Linked DNA regions of Homo sapiens: region 2 is linked to region 1. The links are contacts of gene promoters, found by promoter capture Hi-C in blood cells and fetal thymus (Javierre and others, 2016). All regions are on one chromosome and are shown on one strand. The core of a region is centred on a gene start or on the middle of the fragment in contact, and the rest is flanking DNA. Distances in the headings are between cores, read along the strand shown.

The links. Contacts are between HindIII fragments. The CHiCAGO score rates a contact against its expected background, and 5 or more counts as called.
Region 2: a contact is called between a fragment that was not itself captured here and the fragment with the promoter of TMEM127 in region 1, in 1 of 17 cell types (non-activated CD4 T cells). The highest score is 5.7, in non-activated CD4 T cells.

The regions. Positions count from the first base shown.
Region 1 is chr2:96,263,161-96,268,192 of GRCh38, reverse strand. TMEM127 (transmembrane protein 127) reads left to right here and starts at 2,196. Exons shown (of 4, transcript NM_017849.4): 1 at 2,196-2,324; 2 at 2,681-3,055. The coding sequence starts at 2,812. It overlaps CIAO1 (cytosolic iron-sulfur assembly component 1), which reads right to left and starts at 1,968. Exons shown (of 7, transcript NM_004804.3): 1 at 1,704-1,968; 2 at 724-872; 3 at 457-568; 4 at 269-357. The coding sequence starts at 1,842. RefSeq lists enhancers at 1-779, 1,377-1,656, 1,887-2,076 and silencers at 2,307-2,356, 2,367-2,576, 2,627-2,936. The HindIII fragment of the contact is 2,360 bases long and covers 1,034-3,393 here.
Region 2 is chr2:99,156,958-99,161,989 of GRCh38, reverse strand. LIPT1 (lipoyltransferase 1) reads right to left here. Exons shown (of 2, transcript NM_145199.3): 2 at 1-33. The coding sequence starts at 32. It also overlaps a transcript of MITD1 not described here. Among named protein-coding and RNA genes, the nearest start is that of LIPT1, 4.5 kb to the right of the region's middle. The HindIII fragment of the contact is 3,184 bases long and covers 1,154-4,337 here.

The sequences.
Region 1 (5,032 bases), core at 947-3,446:
TAGTAGAGACGGAGTTTCACCATGTTGGCCAGGCTGGTCTCGAACTCCTGACCTCAGATGATCCACCCACCATGGCCTCCCAAAGTGCTGAGATTATAGGTGTGAGCCACCACACCCAGCCGGATCTGTTTTTATAAAGGGACTAATGTTTTTTGTTCACAGATGGAACTCTCCGTAAAAGCTAGATTAAGGCTGAAAAGCAGAGGAAGGCTGGGCACAAGCCTGCACACCAGAGCCCTTCCCACAAGAGTCCCTGCTTGACTCTTACCTCCTGACTTGGGTGCCAAACCACATGCTTGACATCCTGTGTGTGGGAGTTGAGAACACTGACACATTCATACTCATCCTCTTCATCAACTGTGGGAGAGAAAAAGGGGACCCAAGAGCCGACCCTGTCAGGGACACAGAGGGGGCTGTCAGGTGGTTCCCAATCCACCTGGAGGGACCTGGCCTCACCTTCCCAGACCCAAACGCTCTTATCTCGGCTGCAAGTGGCCAGGAGGTTGCCAGATGGGGCCCAAGCCACTGACTTGACCTCATTTTCATGGCCCTCGAGAGTGGTTACACACTGTGAAAGGGGAAAGAAAATGAGAATTAACAGCAGCTAACACCCCTAAGCCCCTTCCCATGGGTACAGCCCAACTGGCGCAGGTTGGCTCAGGTTCCTGAACCAGCCCTGGGGAGGAAACAGGCAATAATTCTGGTCCCAACCAGCCTGGGTACCTCAAAGTCATCCTGGTTCTTCTTCCAAATGCAAGTGGTAGCATCAAAGCTGGCAGAGGCCAGGTAATTACCGCAGGGGGACCAGGCTACCTTCCGCACGGTGCGCTGGTGGCCTTCAGAAAGGACAGACTTGCAGATCCAGCTGTCACCTAAAGGCGGAGCGCAGGCCAGGCTCTGGAGCTGGGTGCAGCACCATGAAGCCATTCAATATCAGGGGCTAGCACTGGAATCAAGCTAGTGGGGGAAAGCTCAGGGAGTGTATTTCACAGCTTTTACAAAGATGCAAATGAATCTACTTCGTCTGGAAGCTTTTTTTTTTTTTTTTTTTTTTTTTTGAGACGGAGTTTTTGCTCTGATGCCCAGGCTGGGGTGCAATGGCACAATCTCGGCTCACTGCAATCTTCGCCTCCTGGGTTCAAGGGATTCTCCTGCCTCAGCCTCCCGAGTAGCTGGGATTACAGGTGCCCGCCACAACGCCCAGCTAATTTTGTAGTTTTAGTAGAGACGGGGTTTCACCATGTTGGCCAGGCTGGTCTTGACCTCTTGACCTCAGGTGATCTACCCGCCTCTGCTTCCCAAACTGCTAGGATTACAGGCGTGAGCCACCGCGCCCAACCTCTGGAGGCATCTTTCTAAAACAAATCTGATCTAAAATTGCTATTGGTTCCCCAATGCCCTCGGGATAAAATGTGACCATCCAGTCGCAAGTTACTCTGAAGGCCACTTTCCTAACACCTCTCTTTTCCCATTTTCCTGCCTCTGCAGCTAACACAATTCCCTTGACATTTCAGCTTGTCTGCTGACGTTTTTCCTCCCAACAGTCGCAGACTTCTTTGCCTGTAAAGCCCTTCTCGGCGTGGCTAACATCCCACTCTCCCTCCGCCAGGAACAGGTTCAGCCTCCCCTGCAGGCTGAGCGCCTGCACTACGCGCAGGCTGAGCCCTCAGCGCTGAGGGCCGCGCAACCAGGCTGGGCCTTACCCTCCGTGCCCCAGATGCGGATTCTCCGGTCGCCGCCGCACGAGGCCAGCAGGGTCCCCGCGGGGTTCCAGGCCAGGAACCAGCAGCGGGAGTCCGGGTGCGCCGGGACACGGCCCAGCAGCACCAGCGAGTCCTTCATGTCGGCCCGACGCAGGGGGAGGTGGGGGCGGGCAGAGTCCGCTGAGCAGACAGCGGGTCTCACCGCGCGCGTCTGCGTACCGCCCACTCCAGGCTTCCGCGGCCGACAGAGGCTCCCGCTTCCGCCGGAGGACCTGGGTCGCCCCGGAAACTCAACTGCCCACTGCTGCGGCCGCCATACCCTCTGGGAGTTGTAGTCGCTCCCCTCACCTCGGCAGGGAAAGCATCGCGGGACCGCCTCGAACTACCAGTCCCGTGAGGCCCTGCGCAGAGCCGGCGGCGCGCCCAGGCTGTGACGCGCGCGGGGGACGGGGCGGGGAGCCGGAGGAGGCGGAGGCAGAGGAGGAGGAAGCCGGAAGTGCATCGGCCCCGGGTCTGTCCGGGCGTTGCGGGATTGGGGCCTGGGAACGCTCGGCCCCCGGCAGCCGAGAAGCCCGTGACTGGGCTGAGCAGCACCATCCCAGCCCTGGGGCCTGCTGACTGGTGAGGAACAGTGGGCGGCGTGGGGAGGGTCTTTTCTGCGCACAGGTCGCACCCCAAACCGCCGGTCCCAGATCACGGGTCCCCGATCCCCGCGGCCCAGCCCGGTCCTCCGCCCCTCGGCATCCTCTGGCTGAGACCCTGACTCCGGGTCTTTGCTCTAGCAGTAGCCGATCCCCGATCCCTCCGCCCCCCACTCGAGTCTGCCCAGACCCCATCTGGCCCCTGGCCCTCTTCGGTTGTCGTCCCGCAGTCCCATTCCGGAGTCTCCTGTCTCCGCCCCCCGAATTCCCGCAGCCCTCCCCGTCTCCGTCAGCCCCGGGTCCCACCCCCCTATCCTCTGGTGTCAACCCTGACAGCCCAGTCCCGGCTTCACCTGCAGCGAACCCGGAGCGTTGCTATCCTCCACCGGACTGTCAGGCTCTGCGCGCCCCGCGGAGGTCGGCGGCGACCAGCAGCGACTGCGGAGCGACGGCGGGCGGCCCCGGGCATGTACGCCCCCGGAGGCGCAGGGCTGCCCGGCGGGCGCCGGCGGAGGAGCCCGGGAGGCAGCGCTCTGCCCAAGCAGCCGGAGCGTAGCCTGGCCTCGGCCCTGCCTGGCGCCCTGTCTATCACGGCGCTGTGCACTGCCCTCGCCGAGCCCGCCTGGTTGCACATCCACGGAGGCACCTGTTCGCGCCAGGAGCTGGGGGTCTCCGACGTGTTGGGCTATGTGCACCCGGACCTGCTGAAAGGTGAGGGTGCTGCGCGCTGGCCCTTAAAGCCTCGGTGGGGGACAGAATGTGTTCTGGCTGAAGCAGAGATAGCCAGGGACCAGACACTTGGTTGAAGGAAACGGCCCCATAACTGCCTGGTGTTCATGCCCACCAGGTGGCTCTGTTTGGGGTCCGGCCCCTCATTAATTCTGATGTTATTCAGCTAAGCACCTACTCCTCACAGCCATGTTAATCCGGACTGCTGCTATTTTAGGATTCTGCTGGAGGAAGGACGCTGTGTATCGAGAAAAGATAAGGGTGCTAGGTATCACAGTTAGCTGGCCTCTTCTAAGGATCCTGTGAAATACGGAAAAGCTTCTTTGGGGCAGACTGATTAATGGAGAAAAAGGAACTTTTAATATGACTAGGTTTTAAAAGATATCTTAGAGTTCTATGGTAATCGGATGCGTATTAGAGAAGAAGGGAATCTGTGGCATTTTAGGTAATCGGAAGACCGTTCCATTGCCACCCGCAGTACAACAGTCGGAATGTGGCTCTTGGAACCATTATAGGTGTGCCTGACAGAGGCAAGGTTGCTTTGTTCATCATCATGCTTTCCGGCCAGATAGACAGCAGACGATGGGAGGGTCCTATGGGCCCCATAGTTTATCCTGCCCATTCTTGTCTCCAGTAAAAATTGTGAAGTGTGAGGACAGGACTGGACTGTATCACCTGCTTTTTACCCTAACAATGATCAATGTACCCCAAACAGTCCTTAGTAACAGCATAGTTCATCAACCCCAAGGTCTTTTGAGCCATCTTGAAGGTCTTATATCCTCTCTGTGCTATCCTGTCTGTGCTATTCCCTGGCTGTGATGCATTCCAGATGTTTACTGCACCGCCTATCAGAAGCACTTCCTGTTAGATATCTGCGTGTTACCTCCTGAAGAATTCAGGCACTGGGATTTGGTGAAAAGGTCCAAGTTCCCCGCTGTGCATCGGACCATACTCTGCTTCTGCAGGTCTAGGCTGAAAAGCCTCATCCTTGTGGCCAAATGTTGCCTTTCTCTGAGTGTTCTCTTACTGTTTTGCATCTCTCTTGAGTTTTAGAAGCTGTAGGGTGATTTTGTAGAAGGTTGGGGACAACTGGTTGTTTCCAGATTTCACCTTAATGGTACTCTTTGCTGGGTTGGCTCATTAAAGCCAAAGTTATGCACACGACAGAGGCCTTATATGCAGCCTTTTCTCTGTCATGTTGCTAATGGCACAAAGAGCATTAAGCTTGAGTGAGTCTTGGTGGTTTTTCTTTTAGCACATTGCCCTGTACTTGCTTTCTTTGAAGCACACATACCACCTTCCCACCACTAGACCCATCAGATCTAGAAAGCTAGATCTCCGAAATCTAGCACTGCATGGGGTGTGCTTAGCTGTGGCTCAGAAAAATGAAGGATCTCCCCAAGGCTACCCAGTTTAGGGTGGCAGAGCTGGGACTACCCCACCTCTGTTGATGCCAATATAAAATGATGCCGTGTCATTTATAGTTTTTATCCTTTGTTTTACTTCAGCTGTCATAAGGAGCAATCTCATAATTATTTCACTTTGGTGTGCATCCTTGTCGAAGGCATGTTAAAAATAAAAGTAAATTTTTGAGCCGGGCGTGGTGGCAGGCATCTGTAATTCCAGCTACTTGGGAGGCTGAAGCAGGAGAATCGCTTGAACTTGGGAGGCCGAGGTTGCAGTGAGCTGAGATCGCGCCATTGCGCTCCAGCCTGGGCAACAAGAGCGAAACTCCATCTCAAAAAAAAAAAAAAAAAAAGAAAGGCCAGGAACTGGCTCACACTTCTGATCCCAGCACTTTGGGAGGCCGAGGCGGGTGGATTGCCTGAGGTCAAGAGTTGGAGACCAGCTTGGCTAACATGGTGAAAGAAACCCTGTCTCTACTAAAAATACAAAAATTAGCTGGGTGTGGTGGCACACGCCTGTAGTCCCAGATACTCTGAAGGCTGAGGCAGGCGA
Region 2 (5,032 bases), core at 1,496-3,995, 2.9 Mb before region 1:
AAGCAATTCTTCATTGAAAATGGGATCAGCATGCTTTTAAAAATGGAAGACAAACAAATTAATTCATCGAGAAAAGGAACATTAAATTCTATTTTCTAACTATCAATTATCGGTTATTTAATCCAAACTTAAAGTATCCAGTGCAGTTGCTTTTGGCTTTTAGCTTTACAATTAGTCTTTAGCAATGCTATAACCAAGTATTCAAAAGAAATAAATGAAGACAAATTTCAAATAATTTCAGTTGAAATAATTTCACAGTTTTCAAACAATAAGTCTGCTGCAAATACATTATGTAATATATCTTTTTTTTTTCTCTTACAGACAGGATTTCACCATGTTGCCCAGGCTGGTCTCAAACTCCTGGGCTCAAGCAGTCCTCCCACCTTGGCCTCCCAAAGTGCTGGGATTACAGGCATGAGCCACTGCACTCAGCCACATTACCTATATCTTAAAGCCAAATTATGTTGAATTCACAAGTAACAAATGTTCATCGAGAAAAATGAGAAAATACAGACAAGCAAGAAGAAAAAAATAAAAGCATTGATAGTCCTAATCACAATTAACATTTTGGTGTAAACCCATTTTATTTCTAAGCATGTATACGCACACACATTTCCCTCCCCATACTATTATTTCATTCGACATTCAATCTATATATATATATATATATATATATATATATATATATATATATATATTTTTTTTTTTTTTTTTTTTTTTTTTTTTTTTTTTTTTTTTGAGACGGAGTCTCGCCCTGTCACCCAGGCTGGAATGCTGTGGCGTGATCTTGGCTCACCGCAACCTCCGCCTCCCAGGTTCAGGCGATTCTCCTACCTCACTGGGATAACAGACGCCTGCCACCACGTGTGGCTAAATTTTGTATTTTTAGTAGGCATGGGGTTTCACCATGTTGGCCATGCTGGTCTTGGAACTCCTGACCTCAGGTGATCTGCCCGCCTCAGCCTCCCAAAGTGCTGGGATTACAGGCATGAGCCACCGCGTTGGCCCATTAAATCTATTTTGCATCAGCTTTAATGACTGTTTAATATTCCATTGTTAACAAGTTTACTCAGTCTCTTAGTCTGTAATTTTAGGTGGCTTCTAGTTTTTCTGGTTATCAACGATGTGTTCATGAACATTTCCGTGGAAAGCTTTCATTATGTCTTTATAACACTTTAAAAATAATTTCCTGTTTGACTTTGGGATATATGATTTACTGGCAGCATAACTTTTATTTAGATCAATATTAACTTAGGATGAACCCTTGAGGTCAGAGAGAGAGGCAACTGGGAGTATGCAGGTTTATATACAAAGGCTAAGAATAAATTCACTATGTTTGGATGCTTTCCACATTATTCATGTTACCATTGCTAATGAAATATTAGGCAGCAAAAGGTTGAAAATACTAGCTATGAAAATGAAGTATTTTGATTACTTATGGTCTTAAATCATTCTATTCCAATTCTATTTCTTAGAATATAATTTTCCTTCAGGTTGAAGAACTGGGAATAGAATGGATTATTAAAGTGTATAACTTGAGGTTAAGAGTTTGGTTCTAAATAAAGAAAGTTCATAACTAGGTAGCTAGGCTTTTTTATTTTTTATTTTTAAGACAGGGTATCACTCTGTAATTGTCTCACTGCAGCCTCGACCTCCTGGGCTCAAGCAATCTCCACATCTCAGCCTCTGAAGCAGCTGGGACTACAGGTATGCGCCACCATGCCTGGCTAATTTTTAAATTTTTTGTAGAGATGGGGGTCTCCCTACGTTGCCTAGGTTGATCTTGAACTCCTGGGCTTCAGTGATCCTCCTGCCTCAGCCTCCCAAAGTGCTGGGATTATAGGCATGGGCCACTACACCTGGCCCCAAATCATTTAGTTAAGTAATATCTTAGAAGTACAATTCTAGATTAAAGAGTCTTCATATTTTCATCACTCTTGTTGTAGTTTATAAACTAACCTACAAAAAGTTGAATCAGTTTACATTCTGTCTAGAAAGGTGTGGAGAGGTTTAATAGAGGAAGGAATACTTGAACTGAGTCACCAAATCTGATAAGTTTGCCAGGTCGAGGAGCATATTCCAGGCATATGCAAAGACAAAGAGTCATCTAATAGTAAGGTATGTTTGGGGATTCCCTCCTAAGAGAAAGAGTTACACTACTAGTCTTCGACTTCCACTTAAGCCTATGGCTATACTGTCCTAGGAAGCCTCGCAACCGAGACTGCATTACTTTGGTTAACCTCTTTGTTCTTGGTTCTGCTTGACTGACTTTGACACAGTACCATATTCATTCAACAAGTATTTATGGAGTTCCTACTAGGTACAAGGTAATAAGGAGATAGAAAATGGGAGGAGATAAATTCATGTAATGAACCAAAATATTTGGACTTTTTAAAAGGCAGCTAAGATCCACTGAAGTGTTAAGCAGGAAGTGTTAACTCAGCTGTTATACGAATCTGCCTCTGCAGGGTTGAGTATGGATTAAATAAAGGATGGACTAGGGACAGGGGGAACAGTTAATGGACTAAGGCAGTTGTCCATGCTAGAGATAATGAGGGCCTAAAGTACGGTAGGAGAGAGAGAGAGAGAGAAGGGGATGGATATGAGTGACATTAAGAAGGTGAACTGGCCGGGCGCAGTGGCTCATGCCTGTAATCCCAGGACTCTGGGAGGCCGAGGCAGGCGGATCACGAGGTCAGGAGATCGAGACCATCCTGGCTAACACAGTGAAACCCCGTCTCTACTAAAAATACAAAAAATTAGCCGGGCATGGTGGCAGGTGCCTGTAGTACCAGCAGCTCTGGGAGGCCGAGGCAGGCGGATCACGAGGTCAGGAGATTGAGACCATCCTGGCTAACACAGTGAAACCCCGTCTCTACTAAAAATACAAAAAATTAGCCGGGCATGGTGGCGGGCGCCTGTAGTCCCAGCAGCTCTGGAGGCTGAGGCAGAAGAGTGGTGTGAACCCGGGAGGCGGAGCTTGCAGTGAGCCGAGATCGTGCCACTACACTCCAGCCTGGGCGACAGAGCAAGACTCCGTCTAAAAGAAAAAAAAAGAAAAGAAGGTGAACCTGTCCTTGCCTTCAAGAAACAAGTACCTCCACAATCTAGTGGGAGATACTAAAAAACAAGTAAGGCAATAATTAAAATACAGTGTCCTAAATGCTGTGATAGGTGTTAAGTACAGTAGAGCGCCATCTAATGCTCTAATTAGTGGATGTGACATTGAAGCTGAGACATAAAAGGGATAAAGAAAAGAATTCTAACAATGTGCAACAGCTTAGTGGAAAAGGAGATAGGACCCATGCAAATAATTTAATTCTACTGGCTGGTTATTAGGAATACAAGAATGGGGAGTTAATAAGAAGGCAAGAGAAGTAGATGTTAGATTATAAAGAACCTTAAATCCAAGTGAAATGCTTGAACTTTATTGCCCAGGATGGAGTGCAGTGGTGTGATCACGGCTCACTGCAGCCCCGACCTCCTGGGCTCAAGCAATCCTCCCCCTTTAGCCAGCATGTGCCACCACGCCTGGCTATTTTTTTTTTTTTTTTTTTTTTGTAGAGATGAATCTCACTTTGTTGTCCAGGCTGGTCTCAAACTCCTGGGCTCAAGCAGTCCTCCTGCCTTGGCCTCCTAAAGCACTCGGATTACAGGCATGAAGGCTTTGGATTTATACTTCAGGGACACCGCCTAGAGATTTTAAGCATGGAGAATGTACAATACTTGGCAATAGGTTGAATTAGGGTGAGAGAAAGAGAAGTCAAGCATCATGTCCTTTATGATATAATGATTACAAGCTCAAACCAGAGTGCCCTCATTCAAATCCCAACTCTATCCTTTATCAGTTGAATGACCTAAGGCAGATTACTTTTCTATGTCTCAGATTTGTTATCTAATATGTGGATAATGACAGGACTCATCTCATATTATCAGGCTGAGTCTGATGAGCTAATACATATAAAGTGGTTAGAAGAGTGCCTGGCACTGAAGAAAGTACACAATATGTGCTAACTATTTTATTAATATTATGCCCTGATTTCTGGCCTGGCAAAGAGGTGAAATTTCCTAGGACAGATTTTATAGGAAGAGGAAGTATGGGGTTAAGATAATTGGTTCATTTTGACTGTTGAACTAGCGGCCAACGGCACAGAGCTCAATGGATGGTAACTGAGGCCACAGGAAGGTGGTTCAGTGAGAAGATTTAAGGGCCTGCGACATAAGACTGAAGAGCAGCAACATTTAACGGACATACAGAAGAAGGAGGGAGAGCTCCCAAAGGAAGCTGAGGATAGAAGAAAAGGCAGAAAAATTTTAAATATGCTATTATGGAAGCTTCAAGGAGACAAGATGGTCAACAGTGCCAAATGCCAAAGATTGAGCAAATAAGATGAGGGTTGAAAAGGATCTATTAAACAGTATCAAGAAGGTTATCAGTGATCTTGGTAAGAACCAGATGTACTGAGTAAATAGGAGGCCCAAGGTGGATACAATGAGGGTATTCTAGTTGTGAAGTGGAAAAGCTAGGGCAGTAGGTAGAAAGGAATGTGGAGTTAGGAGAGGACTTAAGATGCAATAGATCTGAGCATGTTTAGATGCTGGTAGGGGAGTCAAGAGAGGGCAACACTGGAGAAGGGAGGTCCTTGAGAAAGTGATGGTACTGGGATCCAGAGTTCAGGTAGGGGCAGCCTTAAAGGAGAAAGTAACAAATAGGAGTGGTGGTCACTAATAAGCTGGATGGTGTCTGTGGATATGGAAATTGTCAAAGATCTTGTGAAATATCTTTTCCCAAGATTAAGGCTCTTACTCTTGTCTGCATGTGCAGAGTGTGGCAGGATGGCAAAGTAGTTAAGGACTTAAATTTTTAATCCTGGCTCTGCCACTTACTAATGACTTTAGGGAAGTGGTTTAACCTCTAGCTGCTTCAGTGGCCTCAGACGTCATAAAATGGTTGAGAGAATTAAATGTGTTAATATGCATAAGCCATTCATGTTTGGCAAATATGAAATGTTAACTGTTATGACAGGGTTCT